Regions from separate parts of the Homo sapiens genome. Here regions 2 and 3 are each linked to region 1. Evidence: promoter capture Hi-C in human tissues and cell types (Jung and others, 2019). All regions are on one chromosome and are shown on one strand. The core of a region is centred on a gene start or on the middle of the fragment in contact, and the rest is flanking DNA. Distances in the headings are between cores, read along the strand shown. Region 1 holds the start of UGT1A6 (UDP glucuronosyltransferase family 1 member A6). Region 2 overlaps DGKD (diacylglycerol kinase delta). Region 3 overlaps DGKD (diacylglycerol kinase delta).

The links. Contacts are between HindIII fragments. The study calls those that stand out against the background at their distance.
Region 2: a contact is called between a fragment that was not itself captured here and the fragment with the promoter of UGT1A6 in region 1, in 2 of the 25 tissues and cell types used here (mesenchymal stem cells and stomach).
Region 3: a contact is called between a fragment that was not itself captured here and the fragment with the promoter of UGT1A6 in region 1, in 2 of the 25 tissues and cell types used here (liver and thymus).

The regions. Positions count from the first base shown.
Region 1 is chr2:233,691,471-233,694,540 of GRCh38, reverse strand. It overlaps UGT1A6 (UDP glucuronosyltransferase family 1 member A6), which reads right to left and starts at 1,651. Exons shown (of 5, transcript NM_001072.4): 1 at 676-1,651. The coding sequence starts at 1,536. All of the region lies in intron 1 of UGT1A8 (UDP glucuronosyltransferase family 1 member A8), which reads right to left. The region is part of intron 1 of UGT1A10 (UDP glucuronosyltransferase family 1 member A10); the gene reads right to left. The region is part of intron 1 of UGT1A9 (UDP glucuronosyltransferase family 1 member A9); the gene reads right to left. It also overlaps UGT1A7 and UGT1A. RefSeq lists enhancers at 2,299-2,905, 2,906-3,070. The HindIII fragment of the contact is 31,227 bases long and covers 1-3,070 here.
Region 2 is chr2:233,396,280-233,399,349 of GRCh38, reverse strand. All of the region lies in intron 3 of DGKD (diacylglycerol kinase delta), which reads right to left. Among named protein-coding and RNA genes, the nearest start is that of DGKD, 43 kb to the right of the region's middle. RefSeq lists an enhancer at 1-350. The HindIII fragment of the contact is 5,802 bases long and covers 1-3,070 here.
Region 3 is chr2:233,433,099-233,436,168 of GRCh38, reverse strand. DGKD (diacylglycerol kinase delta) reads right to left here. Exons shown (of 30, transcript NM_152879.3): 4 at 1,685-1,789; 5 at 1,268-1,400; 6 at 245-351. Among named protein-coding and RNA genes, the nearest start is that of DGKD, 80 kb to the right of the region's middle. The HindIII fragment of the contact is 4,831 bases long and covers 1-3,070 here.

The DNA.
Region 1 (3,070 bases), core at 402-2,901:
CAAAGTAACTCTGGGCCCTTTTCCTACATGTCAGGAGGGCATCTGTAAACACTTGTCTTAGGTCAGAGGCCATACCCCTTTTGCTGAAAAGGCCAGTCAGTAAATGTGTAGGCTTTGCAGACCAAATACTTCTGTGGCACATATTCTTCATTGTTAAATTGTTTTAAAACTACAAAAACCATTCTTAGCTCTGGGCCATATAAAAACAGGTCTCAACATAAAAGGAAAAAAAAAAACAAAAAACAGGCCTTTGGGCAGATTGGGCTCACAGGCTGTAGTTCGCTGGTCCCTGGCTCAAGGTCCAGAGACAAAGCATGGGACAGAGTTGGGAAAATGGATTTTAACCTGGACCTGTTCCCTTAGTCAAGCCTTCACCTCTGTTTGAACTGGGACATTTCTAAGGCTCATTCAATGAGTATGTGACTGTCCCAGATTATCCAACTAAGCAAATCTCCTACTCTTGCCAAGCATGAGCCCTGTCTTCATCCGAATGCCTCTGTATCACTTCAGCCTCAGGTCTCCTATGTGTTCCCGCTGCTCCGAGCCGGGTATCACTTCCCCCCACCGTTTCTCCAGGAAATCCTCCAAGGGACAGTCGGCTCAAGGAGCCAAATGAGTGAGGGAGGACAGAGCCTGGAAGAAACAAGGCAGTCCAAAAGAAATAAACCCACCAACCTGAGACAAGTCTTTCCTCTTCTTACAGTTGATACCTCCAATGAAGACCATGTTGGGCATGACCGGCCTAGGATATTCAAGCACAAAGTCATATCTTAACAGCCAAACAGAGACCTTCTGATATAAGGTGATTATATCCACATCTCTCTTGAGGACAGCTGATGCGAGTTCTTCATACTTTGAAAACAGACAATAAAATAGATAGGGCTCCAACAAATTAACAAGGAAGTTGGCCACTCGTTGGGAAAAAGTCATGTGGTCTGAAAACTTTGTGTAGCACCTGGGAATGTAGGACACAGGGTCTGGGCTTCTGCTGAATGTATGCTCCAGGGAACACGGAAAACCCCTGAAGAGGTACACAGATGGTAGGCCCAAATACTCAGCCAGGATCACCCCACAGGGTAAGGCTGGGTCTGTGAAAAGAGCATCAAACTTGCTCTCCTTAAAGAAGTTCAGGGTGTCCCTGTCCTGCAGGAGGCTCTGGCAGTTGATGAAGTACAGGCCAATAACAATCATGTTATTCCTGTACTCTGTCTGAGGAGCAGTTAGGAATGATCGCTCAGCAAAGTGATTGTTTCCAAATGATTGGTAACGGTTCTTCAGCTCTTCTTGGTCATACGGCACTGGATAGATTTTTCTTGTGTAGTATTTGGATTCTTTCAAAAGCAAATTAACTTCAGGCACCACCACTACAATCTCATGACCCCGGTCACTGAGAACCTCAACTATATCCTTCATACTAAGCCAGTGGCTTCCGTCCTGAGGGACCACCAGCAGCTTGTCACCTACAACCATGCCCCAAAGTGCTAAGAAGAAAACCCCTGCAGAAATTCTCTGAAATGAGCGAAGGAGGCAGGCCATCCTGGAAAGAGTTAAAGTAACAACGGTAATAAAGAGTTTTCACTCTCCAAATCACAGGGCTCCTAGGTATTTTCCCTAAACTAACCACTGCTTTTCACAGGTCCTGTCTACCTCTCCCTTGCTCTGAATTTTACCCTTTGATATGTAAGAACCCAAATTAATATTTAACCATTTTAATCACATGGTTAATATGAACCAACTATGGCCGTGTCAGCTTTCACCTGAGCTTCTGGGTGTTTCTCTTCAGCTCCACAAGTCTGCTTCTCCCTCTCTGAAAAGTTATAGCAACACTTTGAAGATGACTTGGAGAGACCCCTGAGGACCCCCTGCCAATTCTCTATCCCGAACTTGCTGGATTCCTCATCATTGACGTTGTCTGTTATGTCCATGATGTGCGGGAATTTTTCTTGCACACGGACCTATTCTCTAACACCAGCTGGGTATCCTACAATTCAATTCCATTCTGAACTGAATTCTGAGTTAGCACGGACCCCACAGGTTAAGGGCTCAGTCCTACAAGACTGCCCTCACTTCAGACACCAATTGCAAGTAGTAGGTCCCCAGGTTACCCACAACTTCTGTCTGACTTGGCAAAAATCAGAGGTTCACACACCCTCTTTCTTGGAGTCAATCATTTGCTAGAATGGCTCACAGAACTGAAGAAAACAGTTTATTTACTAGGTTTGGTTTATTACAAAGGATATTGCAAACAATACGGATGAATAGCCAGAGGAAAAAGTACAAAGAACAAGATATGGGGGTATGGCCATGGAGCCCCATCTGCCATCTCTGGGTGCCCCACCCTCCACACCTTCAGCAACCTGAAAGCTCTCTGAACCCTGCCCTTCTGAGTTTTTATGTAGGCTTCCATACATAGTAGGCATGATTGATTAGATTGTTGCCCATCGGTGATCAAATCAATCTTCAATCTCTCTCTCCTTTCTTCCCTCTAATCGCAAGGGTTTTGTTCCCTGGCAACTAGCCCTCATCCTTAGAGACTTTACATCTCCTTTACATAAACTTAGGTGTGATCGAAAGGGATCTGTTTTGAATAACAAAAGATTCTTTGTTCACGTTTATCGCTCCCACCACTTATGGTTTCAGGAGCTGTGTCCAGGAAACAAAGACAAACATATATTTCTTATTATACATCACAATATAACAACATTCAAACTGTTACTTGCCTTTAGGAAATTAAGATTTGAGAAGTATAAGTCTAGCCAGTACGTGGTGAGAATCCTAGAGCAGGAGTCAGAAAGCCTGGTATCTGCTTCTGGCCCAGCCACCCATCTGCCAGGGGAGTGACTCCTCTCCTGAGCTTCAGGTTTCTCAACTGAGGCCCAGAAAGGGAGGGTCACACTGGCCCTGCCTGCTAACCACACTGCTGAGGGCGGTCCCAGAGCAAGACCTGTGTAGAAACTAGGCTGTCCCAGTGAGAGGTGGTACCTTGAATTACTAGAACAGACTTGCCCAGAGCTAGTCATGCACACCTGGCTGGCACGCGAGTTCCTGTTCCCACCCACAAGTTTGGCAC
Region 2 (3,070 bases), core at 168-2,667, 290 kb after region 1:
GGCAGGGCCCAAATCATTCTGGAACTGGAGGTGACCAAGCCACTCTTCAACAAAGAGTTATGTGCACCTACTGTGTGCTGGGAACTTGGTGTAAAGCCATGAACAAAACAGACAAAAATCCTTGCTCTCATGTAGCATATATTATAAATAAATAAGACCAAATGGAATACAGGTAGGAATGACTCTCCAGGAGGGTCAGGGAGGGTGAGAATAAAGCCCACTGCTTTCATTCCTTTTTGCTGCATTTTGAAATTTCAAAAACTAAATGAGGCAATAAAAATTAATCCTTCATCAAAAGAGAACATGGGTTTAAAAATGATGAAAAACACTGACTTGGAGAAATAAGTAAATAAAAGCATAAAACTCGAATGGACCCTACAGTCTTGTAGTGTTCCACAGCTCTAGGCTGCTAAGGGAAGATGATAAAACTGGGCATGGTGGCTCACACCTGTAATCCTAGCACTTTGGGAGGCTGAAGCGGGCAGATCACTTGAGCTCAGGAGTTCAAGACCAGCCTGGCCAACATGGTGAAACCCATCTCTACTAAAAATACAAAAATTAGCCGGGTGTGGTGGCGGGAGCCTGTAATCCCAGCTACTCGGAAGGCTGAGGCACAAGAATCACTTGAACCCAGAAGGTGGAAGTTGCAGTGAGCTGAGATCGCATCACTGCACTCCAGCCTGGGCGACACAGTGAGACTGTCTCAAAAAAAGCAAACAAGCGTAGGACTTGAAGACAACAACTAAAATTACTATAACACAAAGTTTAATAAATCAGGGGAGAAATCCTAAGTCAATGAAAACATGTGAAAACCCAAGAGAAAATGGAGAAGATCAAAGGAAAATCTTTCCCTGGAGGGAATGACTTTGTTAAACAGAAAACTTTTAAAAAATATTTTACCTATTGGCCGGGCGCGGTGGCTCACACCTTTAATCCCAGCACTTTGGGAGGCTGAGGCCGGCGGATCACGAGGTCAGGAGATCGAGACCATCCTGGCTAACGCTGTGAAACCCCGTCTCTACTAAAAATACAAAAAAAAAATTAGTCGGGCGTGGTGGCGGCACCTGTACTCCCAGCCACTCAGGAGGCTGAGGCAGGAGAATGGCGTGAACCCGGGAGGCGGAGCTTGCAGTAAGCCAAGATCGCACCACTGCACTCCAGCCTGGGCAACAGAGCGAGACTCCATCTCAAAAAAAAAAAAATTTTACCTTTCAAACAAGAATAAGCCAGGATAAATACAAAGTATGCCAAAATCGGGGGTGGGGGGTGGGAGCTGGGAGGGGAGGTTGCAAGTAAATGTAGTAACAAACAATATAAAAACTTTGATAACTAGAACTAGGAAAAAAACCAACAAATTAAATAAAATAAGGCTAAAGAATGTGACAGACATGGAAGATAAAGAAGCCTCCCCCACCACCCCACAGCCCCTCTTCTGGACTCCTGAGCTCACTTAACCAGCCTGCTGCTGTACTCAGCAGAAGCCCTGACACCTTCATCTACTCCACCCCCTTCTGACCTGATCACTAGCCTGCCCACTGCCCCCTAGACACCTCCGCACTCTCCACTCCACTCTCTCCTAACAATCCTACAAACCTCCCTCCCCTTCCAGTTCACCCTCCACCCTACAGCCAGAGTAGAACTTTCTGACACCTGCAAATCTGAGAATTTCACCAAATAAAACTATTCAACAGCAGCCCAAGTCCTGAGGAGTAAGTCCCAAGCTCTGCCCTGGTCCCCTCTGGAGTCCTCTCACTCTGGCCTCTGCCAGCCACTCTGGTCCCCTCTGGTGTCCTCTCACTCTGCCCCCCCCCCCCAGCCACCCTGGTCCCCTCTGGTGTCCTCTCGCCTCGCTCTGGCCCCCCGCCAGCCACCCTGCTCCCCTCTGGTGTCCTCTCACTCTGGCCTCTGCCAGCCACCCTGGTCCCCTCTGGAGTCCTCTCACTCTGGCCTCTGCCAGCCACCCTGGTCCCCTCTGGAGTCCTCTCACTCTGCTGCCCCCCTCAGCCACCCTGGTCCCCTCTGGTGTCCTCTCGCTCTGGCCCCCCCCCCAGCCACCCTGGTCCCCTCTGGAGTCCTCTCACTCTGGCCTCTGCCAGCCACCCTGGTCCCCTCTGGAGTCCTCTCACTCTGGCACCCCCCCCCCCCCAGCCACCCTGGTCCCCTCTGGAGTCCTCTCACTCTGGCCCCCCCCGCAGCCACCCTGGTCCCCTCTGGTGTCCTCTCACTCTGGCCTCTGCCAGCCACCCTGCTCCCCTCTGGTGTCCTCTCACTCTGGCCTCTGCCAGCCACCCTGGTCCCCTCTGGAGTCCTCTCACTCTGGCGCCCCCCCCCCCAGCCACCCTGGTCCCCTCTGGAGTCCTCTCGCTCTGCCCCCCCCAGCCACCCTGGTCCCCTCTGGTGTCCTCTCGCTCTGGCCCCCCCCAGCCACGCTGGTCCCCTCTGGTGTCCTCTTGCTCTGGCCTCCATCAGCCACCCTGGCCCTTCCACCACTTTGCACACTCCACGTGGTGTCCCCATCCCAAGGTCTTCGCACTGCTGGTCCCTCCACCTGCCCCATCCCCGAGGTGCCTATTTGCACAAGAAACACACAGACACACACAAAGAAACACACAGACACACACCAACACACAGACACACATACCCTCTCAGGCTCATGCTTCCCTCAGTGGATTTACCACTATCATTCTTCATGTCTCAGCTATGAGACCTCACTTCCTCTGAGAAGACTGCCCAGCCCCTCCCCAAGGCCAGGTGGGGTCTTCCACATATCAGGCACCATGTACTGCTCTTCCATCGGAGCTTGTCTCAGCCTGTAACTAAGGTTCTATGTATGTGCTTATCTGATCTCCCACGAGAATATAAGCTTGATGCAGAGTGGCTCCTCTCCATTTCTACCCACCGCACTCAGCATGGTGTGTGGCCCACGGTAGACCCCAAAAAAAATGCTTGCCAAAACAATGACTAAATAAACGAGCCAAATTCCCAAAGAACAAGACAAAGCACATGAACCAGAATTCGTTTTTTCAAGTGTAAGAGAAAAGAAGGAAAAAACAGTTTTTCAAAGCTGGAA
Region 3 (3,070 bases), core at 336-2,835, 260 kb after region 1:
CCTGTGAAGTACCATCTACCCATAGCACCTGTCGGAGGTGCAAACAAGACTCACAGGGACAGGATGGAGCTCGGGGGTGCGACAACCACACGGAGACCGCATATAATTTCCACTGTGCCACCCAATGCCAGTGTGACCATCTCAAATGAAACAGTGGCAGGGAGGGCAGGGAGGAGGCTTGCATGGGGCCGTGCAGGTGGGGGACCCTGGCTCAGGGCCCCACAGGTGGTATTTCTTAACATACCCCATCTGCATCTTCAATGATGTCCTTCCCGATCGAGGCCAGTGTGGTCCACTTGCAGTTATTGGTTGCACGCACAGCACAGCGCTTGTGGGCCTTAAATTTGCACACTGTGAGAGAAGGGGCACATGAGCCTACAAGCTGTGTCTGTGCCAAGAGCTTCCCATGCTGAGCAGTGTTGTGAGAACCGTCCAGCTCCAGAAAAGTCAAGGAAGGAACCAATGGCACTCCCATTTTATAAGTGAACTACTGTGATACGCTTAGAGGCTGATGGCGGTGGGACCGGCAGCGGCAGGGAAAGCTGGGGATCAGTAAGCTTTCTGTAACAGGCCAGAGAGTGAGCAGTGGAGACTCTGCAGGTCGCAACCAGCTTCCGTCACCACTAATCAACTCTGTCATGTAGCACAAAAGCAGCCAGAGACAATGTTTTTTTACGGGCACAAATTTGAATTTCATGTAATTTTCATGTGTCACAAAATATGATTCTTCTTTTGATTTTTTCCAATCATTTAAAAATTTAAAAGCCAGTCTGAAGCGTGGGAGCTGTACAAAAACAGGCAGAGGCAGGGTGTGGTCCAGGCTATAGCTAACAAGCCCTGCTCTAGCCCACTGCTTTGCCACCAGACTGAATGCCCTTGCCCAAACCCTGCAGCCCTGACCTCTAAGTCTGTAACACACTTTCAGTCCATATATGCACAGCCCCGTTTCCCCGGCTGCAGAGTGTGAGACACAGGGGCCGACCACTGTTCCTTCAGTGCCTTTCCCTCTGTGTGCTCTAGATTTCCCATTTCTCCTTTTGCCACCCACCACTTCCCTTTTCACTCTGAGCACTATAAAAAATGATTTATCAAGGACTCTTCGGCAGGTAAAATAAACAAGAATGGCATCACAGAAATCGCTGTGCCCTTGACTGACCACATGGGTGACAACGGCTTATTTATGGTGACTGGGTTTGGATTTCCAAGGCTTTATCAAGTAAAATGCCAGGCCACCTTTCCTGACAGAATAACAAACGCACATCCGTACCCTCGCAGGACAGCCCGTGCGACGTGACCCCAGACAGAGCCTCACGGCACACATTGCAGTAGGTCGGCCTCGCGTGGGAACAGGCGTACCAATTGTGCATCCCTGAGAAGTGGTCCATGCTGTACTGGGTGGGCTGGAAGAACGAAACCAAGAGGGCAAAGATAAGACTTCTCTTTTAAATTGTTAAATGCAGTAACTTGGACAAGATTAAACAAAGTATCCAAGAGAGGAGAGGAGGAAGGTTTATAAAGGACAGGTCTGCTGAGAGGACAAGCAATAAGCTTTAATTGTATAAAGAACATGCTAAGAACGTGAGCTCCAGACTGTGGGTCCGCACGTGGGAGACACTCAGACAGCAGACACTGGGGTGAGGGAGGCAACAGGAGGCATTTGGAGAAGGGTATTTTCTTTTTTAACCTCAAAGTGCTCCCTGTTCTGCACAGTCTTTAATGCTGCAATCCAATCTTCCATTTCTTTTCTGTTATCAGCACACAAGATGAGCTTCCTGCATGGAGTTATGACCTAGAGAAAGAAACAGGTTCAACAGATCCATGAACAAAAGGCAAGTGCTGATAGCTATGAACGCTTTCTTAAAACCGACCTCACACAGACATAAAAATTACTATTTCATTCAGGTATTCACACTGAACCGAAAACAAAAATGGTTATCAAGGATCACTAAAAATTAAAAATAAGAATGATCTCAAACCAAAAAGACAGTGAAATTTAGTTTTTATATATTCATCAGCAATCAATTTAAGTGGACATTTATAATTGCTTGCTACTTAGACACAGTAGTAAACCCTAAGGAAATAAAAAAAGAAGTAACAACTGTTGTTTTCCGAACAGTGGAAGACACAGTTGCTACTGCTTCAGGGAGCCCACAGTGATGGCCAGCATTTGAACAGTTGAGGGAAGTCTGCTCAGCTGTAAGTCTGGAATACCATGAGCATGTATCACATATAAATGTTCTTGTAGAAAACCTCAATATCAGACTATGCAGGACCTGAACAACTTGACTGGAAATAAAGCTGTGACCTGGTAATAATCAACAAATGAAAATGATATCCATAATATATAAAGGGTTCTTATCAATCAGTAGAAAAAAAATCTTCCTGATATAAAAAAGGCTATGAACTTGCATTTCACAAAAGAAATACATCAACGTTCTTTTTAATTTTTTTTGTGGGTACATGGTAGGTATATGTATTTATGGGGCATATGAGACACTCTAATACAGGCACAGAATAATCACAGAGTAAATGGGGTATCCATTGCCTCAAGGATTTATCCTTTCTCTGTGTTATAAACAATCCAAGTATACTCTGAGTTATTTTTAAATGTACAGCAAATTATTAACTGTTGTCACCCCGTTGTGCTATCAAATACTAGATCTCGTTTATTCTAACTACATTTTTGTACCTATTAACCATCCCCCCAGCCCCACTACCCTTCCCAGCCTCTGGTAACCATCAATCTACTGCCTATCTCCATTAGTTCAACTGTTTTCTTTTTTTTTTTATTAGCTCCCACAAATAAGAACATGTGAAGTTTGTCTTTCTGTGCTTGGCTTACTTCACTTAACATTAAGGGTCCTCCTGTTCCATCCATGTTGTGGCAAATGACAGGATCTCATTCTTTTTCATGGCTAAATAGTACTCCATGTGTATATGTACATTTTCTTTATCCATGTGTCTGTTGATGAACACTTAGGTTGCTTCCAAATCTTGGCTATTGTGAATAGTGCTGCTATAATCACATGAGTGCAGACATCTCTTCGATACACTGATTTCCTTTCTCTTT